Regions from separate parts of the Homo sapiens genome. Here region 2 is linked to region 1. The links are contacts of gene promoters, found by promoter capture Hi-C in blood cells and fetal thymus (Javierre and others, 2016). All regions are on one chromosome and are shown on one strand. The core of a region is centred on a gene start or on the middle of the fragment in contact, and the rest is flanking DNA. Distances in the headings are between cores, read along the strand shown. Region 1 holds the start of PAX5 (paired box 5). Region 2 has its middle 13 kb from the start of ZCCHC7.

Evidence for each region. Contacts are between HindIII fragments. The CHiCAGO score rates a contact against its expected background, and 5 or more counts as called.
Region 2: a fragment that was not itself captured here is called in contact with the fragment with the promoter of PAX5 in region 1 in 2 of 17 cell types (total B cells and naive B cells); the score reaches 8.1 in total B cells.

Annotation. Positions count from the first base shown.
Region 1 is chr9:37,031,439-37,036,724 of GRCh38, forward strand. PAX5 (paired box 5) reads right to left here and starts at 2,830. Exons shown (of 10, transcript NM_016734.3): 1 at 2,548-2,830. The coding sequence starts at 2,593. RefSeq lists silencers at 2,596-2,716, 2,983-3,162, 4,243-4,402, a promoter at 2,976-3,414 and enhancers at 3,493-3,542, 4,936-4,985. The HindIII fragment of the contact is 10,408 bases long and covers 1-5,286 here.
Region 2 is chr9:37,104,576-37,109,861 of GRCh38, forward strand. No RefSeq gene overlaps it. Among named protein-coding and RNA genes, the nearest start is that of ZCCHC7, 13 kb to the right of the region's middle. The HindIII fragment of the contact is 2,500 bases long and covers 999-3,498 here.

The DNA.
Region 1 (5,286 bases), core at 1,580-4,079:
TGCCCAGTGGGAAAGTACTCAATCCATCCAGGTCTGCCCGGATCTAAGGACTCAAGGGTTCCCATGGCAAGGAGAGACTACTACTTGTCCAAGTAGTAGTTTTTCTCCAAGGGGGTCCATGGAGAGAGGGGGGAATCTGTCTCTTCTCCCAGCAGGAACAGGAGGTCTAAGGGCAGAGAGGTCACCTTCCATTCCTATTCCCTCCCTTACTCATGCTTTATGATCTCGAACAAGTCCCTTCCCCTCTCCGAACCTCTGAGTTTCCTTTCCCTACAGCAAGGAAGACATTAGAGGAGAAGGTCCTTAAGTGGCTCCCTGCTTAGTGTTGACCTGACCTTATTTTGGGCTTAGAGCCAGAAGGACACACTCCCTCCCCATTGGGCAGATAGGGAAACTGAGGTTGGGGTAAGAAATGGAATATGGTTCTGAAGGAAGAAAAAGGAAGTCTATTGGCCCATGAAATACCCAGAAGTTGGGAGAAGGAAGAAGCTCTCATAGGAACCAGACCTGGACAACCCTTTGAGCACCAGCTTGGACAGCTTCTCAGCTTCCCTCTCTTCTCCAGCCCTGACCCAGGCTGGAGTGGACAGATGGAAGTGCAGTCTCACTTGAACTGTCGCCCTTTTCCAGGCAGGCAGCTCTTCCCCAACCCATCAGTGAGGAGGGGGCGTGGCTCTCTAGATTTTAAGGCTTGGCCAGCCTAGGGCTCCCGTATCTCACCCCACCCCAAGCCCCACCCAGTCCAGCTATGCAGAGGAATAAAATGCTTTATTGATTAAATGATTATTCAGGCAATTGAACTAATCAAAGAGCCCATCGACCGCCATGAATTACATTCTTCTACACAGCTTGTCGGGAGAGCCAGCCCGAGGACTGCGCAGACCCTCTCCATGACACTCACACATCCCCGCCTCATTCCCCACACATACACAACACCCACTTCCAGGCTCAGGTCTCTCTGAAAGTCCATCTGCTGAGAAGCCCACTGCCAGGGAGAAGGGCCTTCTGAGAATTGAGGATGGAGAAGAGGAGTTTCCAGGTAACTTTTCCTGAGCCCTCATCCTGGGAGCACTCTTCTGCCTCAGATCTCTGCCCTCACTTCTCTCCAGCCACAATTTTGGAAACACAGTTATGCCCCAGAAGTTGTCCTGGGCTTGGGGTCTAAGTTTATCCTTTTTGCTCTTAGGCTTGTATTTGAGGCTGGAGGAGAGATGGGGGTTCTCAGAGGGCACAGAGATGGGGGAAGGGGGCTTCTTGCCAGGGCCAAGAGAGTGTTTGTGTGGGAGTTACACAGTGGCCTAGTGAGTGAAAGAGGCCCCCCATACCTGATTCATGCCTCAGGGCAGATGGAGGCCTACTGTCCCTGCTATCTCCTCTCAGACATAAACACATCCTGCTACCTACTTCTCAGGCCTGTGGGAGGCACATGGGGACCTAAGCCAGGGAGGCCTGTGCGCATACAGGCCCTAGAGCTGAATGCCCAGACTATGCACATGCATCCACCCACTGTGCTCTCCTCCACTGGTGCGGCACCCACAGGATAAAACCTGAGGACACAGTGTGTGTGTGTCTGTGTGTACACACAAATACACACGCCAGTGTCAGAGGCTTGTCTAGGTGAAAGTGAATGTAGGCTGGGGGTCCCTAGAAATGTCACAACTAACCCTACAGGTGTCCGCTGTCATCTGCAAGGTTGTGCCTGCCACAGGAGACCTGTTTGTACAAATGGTAGCCTGAACAGTGCTCACTGCACACCAAGAGGCTGCATGCCCTGAATTCACACCTTCATTCCTGGTCCTATCTCCCAATAGAATGGACACTGGGCCTTACAATGCACATGCTAAACACCACGGATCTCCATAGGCCCCAGACCCACGTCTAGGAGTTTGCCTAGAGACACAATGTGAACATTGGCGTGTATGCATCGGACAGCCGTTGACATCCAAAAATGGAAAGGTCAGTGTAGCCACTTCTTTCTCACATCCAAAAATCACTTGGGATATAACAGGTGAATGCAGACCCTTTAAATAGTGGATGTACACTCAGATATTTCCGAATTACATAAATAACACTCATAGTAGACACACATTTTGGATACCCAAAAGAATATACACAAGTACTAACTTATAAACACACACGAATACCCCACGAGTATAAAGATACACACACACACACACACACACACACACAGGCAAACAACTTTTGGACACAAACTCATATATTTTTACATCTTTTAAAAATACATATACTGTAATGAACACACTGAGTCCCTTATATAAACACACAGGCCCTAACTTGCAGACCCCCGGAAGGACGCCAGCGTGAACATTCAGAAACAGAGAAAAACACAGACAAACTCACAGATATTTGGACTGATGCAGAAGTGTGTGAACAGATAGGTGAAAAAACATAACAAACACGCCGCAGTTAGACAGTCTCTACGAAAATGCGGCGCGCCCCCTCCTCCTCCAGGGTCACCCTGCGTGGGGACCAAGGCCTGGCCGTGTCCCGGAGTTTGCACATCTGGAGCCCGTATCGCGGTCCTACCTGTCCTGCTGGTCCGAGGAGTCGGATAATTTTTCTCTAAATCCATTTTGATTTTTCAGGACTTGATGGAATGGACAGGGAAAAGTTTCCACTTTTTTGTGCCTTTTTTTTTCTTTTTTTTTTTTTTTTTTTTTTTTTTTTGGTGCCAGGGGCCGCTCACAGGTCGGAATAATTCAAGCCTTCCGCTCCCCCGCCGAGCTGGGGTAGCTGATCACTGAGCTGAAACTAAACGTTTTAGGTGGAAAAAAAGCGTCCGAAGGCACCGTGAAATGATTAAGGAACTAAAGAGCTTCTCGCCATGTGAGATCATGTCCTGTTCTCGCCAACATCACAAGATGTCCCCAGACACGCCGCGCCCCCAGCGCGCCGCCCCACACTGCCGGCCCGGAGCGAGGAAAGGGTAGGCGCTGCGCGGCCGGGCCTGCTCAGCGCGCCAGACGTGGCGGACCCGGCCCGGCCGGAGTAGAGCGGGAAGCCGGGAGAGCAGCAGTGCTGCTGCCGCGCCGCCCCAGACTTTTATAGGGGTTGGGGGGAGGGAAGGAAGGCTTCAGCCTGCGCCGGGCGCTAGCCAGCGCACCTACGGGAAGGGGCAGACCGAAGCGGAGCCCGGGAGCCCGGGTCTTCCAGCCGCACCTTCTATTAAGACATGCGCTTGGGGGTCGCGGCCCTCTGCGCTGTGCGCGGGGCCTGTGACATCTCCATGTGCAAACCCCGCTGCTTAGACGAGCGCAGGCCGGGTTTTTGTTTTTGAAGAAATTAACTGCTCGGCCAAGCAGGTGCTTTTGAAAGGGGTTGCAAAGGCTGGCAGTGTTGCCAGGCACCGAGGCGACGTTCCGGTTTACTCCGATTCACCCCTAGGGCGGCGCCCGACCCCAGGGTTCCCAGCCATCCAACCCCCACCCCAATTTGTTGGGGTCCTGACTATTGCTGGGCCCCTGACCCTAGGGCAGCGCCAGATCCCTAAAGCCCCCAGGTCCCATCCAGTCTTCTAGTCCCAGAACCCCTCCCCACATCAAGTTCCATTCTGGCCCAGAGCATGGAGGTTAAGCTGTGAAATACTGGAGATGAAATCCGGGCTTCCGCTTTGGAGCACCCGGGCAGAGCAGAACATCTCAGTAGTTTCTGGAGATTGGCGGGAGTTCCAGACACCTTACCCCGGCCCATAAGTGGAATCGCATTGCCCTCGAGCCCTGAGACGTTGTGGAGTCCCAGAGCCCCAGGACTTGATTCCAGAGAGGAAATCAGATCCACAGAGACCGAGCAGAGGTGTGGCATGTCCAGCCCTCTCTCTTCGGGCCAGACTCAAGCCTCCCCTCCCTGTTCCCCTCCCCAGCCTTGAGTTAGTTCAGCTGCTGGGCCTAGCCACTGAAAGCCTGTGGGGCCCTGCAGCGGGGTGGTCGCAGGGGAAAGGTTCTCCAGGGCGGGGGAGCGCTCCGTAGGAGGACTCCTGGCCCGCCGGACAATGGCAGTTTTGGAGAGTGAATCGTCCTCAGCAAGAGTGTTGTTTGTTTTTTGGAGGGGGTGGTCACGAGGCTGGGTCGCAACCTAGGGGGAAGAGCCTAGAGCTCGAGGAAAGGGGGGCCCCCGGCGGCAACTGGACATCACATATCCACTGAGCAGATTTCGCCACAATCGGAAATGTGGCTGTGGATTCCCGGGCGGCCCCCCCACCAAGTGGTCTGCGCAGTTCCCCAGCGCCGCCTCCTCCCTGCAGCCTGCGGGCCCGTGTCCCTACCCCGAGATTTGATTTTTGGCCATCTCCGAGTGCTCGACTCTTTCCCTCCGCAGCCCAGCCCCAGCCCAGGCTTCCCGCCCTCCCGCCTCGCCCGCGCCGGGAGGCAGCGCCTGGGAGGAGCGGCCTGTCCGCGCCTGGAGATCAAAAGCCCTCCCGGAATTGACATTTCACCCCGGGCTGGGGGCGGGGGGTGTTGGTGTTTTGTTGTTGTTGTTGTTTCCATTTAGAGGGCTTGTTTTGTTTTTGTTTGTTTTCTGTGAGTTTTCATTTTTCCATGGGATATTCTTTTGTTTCGGGTGTTTTGCGTGTTGTTTTTTCGTGGGATTGATTTTAGCGGGTTTTGCTCTGTAAGTCCTGGTCTTTGGGGTGAGTTTTGATTTTGTGTAATTTTGTACTTTGTCCTTGTAGGCTGTCTTTTTGTGTGTCGTTTGTAAGGCTTTTCCTTCTCCGCGGTGTTTAGATGTGTTTTGATTTGGTGTGAGTGGGTGTCGTCTGTGTGTGTGTTGCCTTAGGGAATTTCGTGTTGTGTGTGTTTTGTTTCCTTCGATTTGAATTTTATTTTTTTGAACTGTACGTTTTGGTGGGGGATCGGGTTATATTTTCATGTGTTGTCTTTAGTTTTTGTGTTTGTGAGATGCGCTGGTGAGAGTTTGCGTGTGTATTTTGGCTTTTGTGGGGCTTTGGGATTAGGGAGGGGACATCAGCCGCTACTCCGTTCCTGCCCGCACCCATGAAGGGCAGAGGATTAGGCCAAGCATCACGAATCGTAGGTTCGCCGTGCTCCGCCGCTTCGCGCTCTGGACGCTCGAGACCAGCGGGAAACAAATGTGGTTCCCGAGGGGGCGCCCGCTGGTCGTCAAAACCTCGCGGGCCCGGAGGCGCCGCTGCTGGGTCAGAATCGCAGAGCCCCCCTCGCGGGGTACCGAGGCCCAGCCGCCGTCCCCTTGCCCACCCTCTCCCCTGTGAGTCGGTCTCCCCTTGCGCCTGGCCAGCATGCTTCGGAC
Region 2 (5,286 bases), core at 999-3,498, 73 kb after region 1:
CCTCTCTCCCTCCATTCCCCAACATGCTGTGCTCCAGTCAGGCCAGCTCACTTGCAGTTTCACAAACTCACAAGGCTGAGTCATGCCTCTGCCATGGCTCTTGCAGAGCCTCCTGGCTGGTGTGCTTCAGCCTGATCCTGGTTTCTGCAGAGAACACTCACTCCTATGTCAAGATTCAAAGAGTCACTCATGCAAACTTTTCTCATTCTCTTAATTACATATAAACAACAACCTCCTCCCCTTTGAGATGGAGTTTCACTCTTGTTGCCCATGCTGGAGTAAAATGGTGCTCCATTTCAGCTCACTGGAACCTCTGCCTTCTGGGTTCAAGCAATTCTCCTGCCTCAGCCTCCTGAGTAGTTGGGATTACAGGCACCCACCATCACACCCGGCTAACTTTTTGTATTTTTAGTAGAGATGGGGTTACACCATGTTGGCCAGGCCGGTCTTGAACTCCTGACTTCAGGTGATCGGCCCACCTCAGCCTCCCAAAGTGCTGGGATTACAGGCGTGAGCCACTATGCCTGGCCTACCACAATTTTTTGAAAAGGAGGATCAGTTCATGGATCTGAGGATCTGAGTTTAGGGGATCAGAGGAGGAGGGTGGGGTGAAAATAGAGCAGTGATGAAACTTCTCTGTAAATTACCTCTCTGCCTTCCTGCCTCCCTTTTTGCCTGCCACACAGGCTGAGCCAGGTCCTATTTTGGGGCCAAACGCATATGCTTGTGTGCACTCAGAGATGAATAAGACAGCACCTCCCCTGGAGGAGTCAGTGCTACAGATAAGTCAGGGAGGAAGTATGGGAGCCAATTTCACAGGTGGAATAATAAGGGAGATCATACGTCATGACTCGAAATCTTCCCATTATTCTCCTTCCCCTCTGACCCCCGTGCATGCTTCTGAGTCTCCTTGAGAGGAAACCCCATAATATTTCTGGAGTCAAGATTAGATGAGAAGATTTAATAGCATCAGAAGAAACATCTGGGTCCAATTATGAAGCTTTAAATGGAGCCTTTACATTTCATACTTGGAATTAAGGCTAGTGAATCCTCCAGATGTTTTCAAATAAACCAAACTATCACAGAGACAACAGGAGAGTAATTGAAAATGGACTGAGAGAGACCTTGAGCATAGGCAGTCTGAGGTAACACTAAGCAAGCTCACAATATCCCTTGCAAAAAATCTACTAGCAATAGATGTGTATGTCAAAGAATCTTAGAATTTGGGAGCTTAACAGGACCTGCCTTGGCAGTTACTAAGTCTTTTTCCTCATTTTACAGATGAGGAAACCAAAGTGCACAGAGATTAAGTGGTTTGAAACTTCACACAGGAAAATTATGTCATACCTGGCACTATAGTCCCATGCTTTGACTTTTAGTTGAGTGAGGGCCCTTGATTTTCTGCTCACCTATTGCTTTCCTTCAATAAAATGTTCTAACCTTATATTTTATTTTATTTTTATTTTATTTATTTATTTTTTGAGATGGAGTCTCACTCTGTCACCCAGACCGGAGTGCAGTGGCGTCATCTCAGCTCACTACAACCTCTGCCGCCCAGGTTCAAGCCATTCTCCTGTCTCTGCCTACTGAGTAGCTGGGATTACAGGCGCCTGCCACTATGCCCTGCTAATTTTTGTAGTTTTAGTAGAGACGGGGTTTCACCATCTTGGCCAGGCTGGCCTTGAACTCCTGATCTCGTGATCCACCAGCCTTAGCCTCCCAAATTGCTGGGATTACAGGTGTGAGCCACTGCGCCCAGCCTCTAACCTTCTATTTTATAAGTAGGATTTTCTCTTCTAGTAGTGGAATGAGTCAGACAGGGAGAAGCAAGTCCTTGCAAATGATAAATATATATTGCTATGAGTTGAATTGTGTCCCTCCAAGGGAATGTTGAAATCCTTATGCTAGTATCTCAGAATATGACCTTATTTGGAAACAGGGTCATTGCAGATATCAGTTAAGATATGATGGATCCTTTTTTCTGTTTGTTTGAGACAGAGTCTCACTCTGTTGCCCAGGCCTGAATGCAGTGGCTCGATCTCGGCTGACTGCAACCTCTGTCTCCCGGGTTCAAGTGATTCTTCTGCCTCAGCCTCCCAAGTAGCCAGGACTACAGTCACATGCCACCAGACTCAGCTAATTTTTGTATTTTTAATAGAGACGGGGTTTTGCCATGTTGGCCGGGCTGGTCTCGAACTCCTGACCTCAGGTGATCCATGTGTCTCTGCCTCCCAAAGTGCTGAGATTACAGGCATAAGCCACCATGCCCAGCCTGATGGGTTCTCAATTCAATATGACTGATGGCCTCATGGGAGGAAGAATAAGACACACAGGAAGAAGATGTAGCCATGTGATGACAGAGGCAGAGGTTGGAGTGATGCATCTACAAACCAAGGATTGCCAAGAACCTACAGAAGCCAGGAAGAGGCAGGGAGGGTTCTTCCTTAAAGCCATCAGAGAGCATGGACCTGCCAACATCTTGATCTCGGACTTCTAGCCTCCAAAACTGTGAGAAAAGAAATTCTTGCTGTTTTAAGTCACCCCACTTTTTGGTAATTTGTTGTGGGCAGCCCTAGGAAATGAATACAGTACACAAATGTTGCCAGCATGTGAGTTTCCTTGGGCCAAAAGAGGTGGGTTCCATCAGGCCTTGGGGTAGAGGCAGTTATGAAACAAAAGTTGGGCTGGGCTCGAATATTTGGTAGCAATAAGCCCCAAAGTTCAAGCAGCCAGCATGTCCCAATCAGATTCTAATCTGGGATACTAACAATGGATGATGAGCAGAATCAGAAGCAAAGGTGGAGGAAATATTTGTCTTCCCATTTGAAGAAGTTGCAGTTCCAAATCTTTGATTCAGCAATTCTGATTGGGATACAGAATTTTACAGTTTATGCAAGTTGCATCTCTAAGGTACACGTAGCTGACATGAAAAGCAGCAAGTTCTCTTCCTTGTTCTCACCAAACTCCTCCTACCGCATACCCAGTCACAGACTTATATATGTTCAAAAGCCAGAAAAGACTGTAAGGTGGTTGTTAAAACCTCACTCACTTTGGAGTGTTGCTGGACCACTGCAGGCTGACTTCAGTCCAGAGAGATGTGCCCATTTACTCACTGTTAAGTCTTTGAATTAGAGTCTCTGCAGGAAACAGGTGTACATTCTGAATGAAGAATTGAGTAGTTTCATGAAGGGACAGTTTACAGAGGGGTGGGCAGAACTCAGGGAAGACAACAAGGTATGGCACCCTAGGGCTAGCCATTGCAGGGAGCATTCACCTTTTAGTTACACCTAAAAGGGCCAGGAAGGAAGGGAGTGGCTGTATGAAGAAGGTCACCTGACAGGAGCTGTGGTCTTTTGTAGAGGAACGCAATCAACTCATGGAGACGCAGCAGAGAGGGAGCCAGCACACCAACGGTGTGACTTCATTCCCCTCCTGTCCTCCTAAATTTAGCTCATGCTGCCTATTGTCCAACCCCAACCAAAGACCAAAAGATAAGGAAGCTTTTCAAACTTAATGGTGATAGACTGAAAGCTTTCCCCCTAAGATCAGAAACAATATAAGGATGCCTGCTTTCATCACTGCTACTCAACATGGTACTGGGAGTCCTAGCCAGAGCATCTTGGAAAGAAAAAGTAAAACACTGTCATCATTTGGAATCACAAGTCATCCAAATTGGAAAGGAAGAAATAAATATTTACAGTTGCAGAACACAGGACTCTACATATAGAAAATCCCAAGGAATACACAAAAAATCTATTAGATCTAGTAAATTGATTTAGCAAATTTCTAGGGTACAAGATCAACACACAAAAACCAGTTGTGTTTCTGTACATCACCAAGGAACAATCCTAAAAAAAAATTCCATTCATAATAGCATCCAGAAGAATCAAATACAATTCTTAGGAATTTTATTCTGATTGGGATATAGAATTTTATGGTTTATGCAAGTTTTGCATCTCTCAGGAATGCATTTGATCAGACCATTCATCAAGAAAGGTGAAGGACATGTACACTGAAAAGTATAAAACTGCTGAATAAAATTTAAAAAGACCTAACTTAACATGAAATTCCATGGTTATGTATCAGAAAACTTAATATTGTTAAGATGGCAGTACTCCCAAAATGACTTACAGATTCAACGCAATCCCTATAAAAATTTTAATGGCCATTTTTGTGTAAATTTAACCAAGGAGGTGAAGGACTTGCACACTGAAAAGTATAAAACTGCTGAATAAAATTTAAAAAGACCTAATTTAATATAATGAAATTCCATGGTTATGTATCAGAAAACTTAATATTGTTAAGATGGCAGTACTCCCAAAATGATCTACAGATTCAATGCAATCCCTATAACAATTTTAATGGCCATTTTTGTGTAAATGGAAAGGTTGATCCTCAAATTCACACAGAATTGCATGAGGCCCTAAACAGCCAAAACAATATTGAAAAAGAGAAATAAAGTACTACAAAGCTACAATAATCAAAACAGTGTGGTGCTGGCATAAGGATAGACATATATATCAACAGAATAGAGTTGAGAGTCCAGAAATAAACCCAAACACCTATGGCGAATTGATTTATCAACAAGGGTGCCAAGAACATTCAATAGGGAAAAAAAAGTGTCTTCAGAAGATGGTGCTGGAACTGGGAAACTACATGCAAAAGAATGAAGTTGGACCCCTACCTCACTCCATATACAAAGATTAACTGAAATGGATCAATTACCTAAATATAAGAGCCAAAAGTATAAAACTATTAGAAGAAAGCAGGGGTAAATCTTTATGAGCTTGGATTTGGCAATGGATTCTTAGAACTAACACTAAAGCACAAGCAACAAAAGAATACATCAATTAGATTTCACAAAAATTAAAACCTTTCCAAATCAAAGGATATTATCAATAAAGTGAAAAGGTAACCTACAGAATGGGAGAAAATACTTATAAATCATATCTCATAAGGGTTTAGTATTCAGAATATATAAAAAATGCTCAGCCAGGTGCAGTGGCTTGCTTCTGTAATCCCAGCACTTTGGGAGGCTGAGGCAGGCTCATCCCTTGAGCCCAGGAGTTGGAGATCAGCCTGGGCAACATGGCAAAACTCTGTCTTTACAAAAAATACAAAAATTAGCTGAATGTGTTGGTTCACAACTGAAGTCTCAGCTACTCAGGAGGCTGAGGTAGGAGGATTGATGGAGCCCCAGAGGCAGAGGTTGCGGGGAGCCGAGATCACACTACTGCACTCCAGCTTAGGTGACAGAGCGAGACCCTGTCTCAAAAAAAAAAAAAA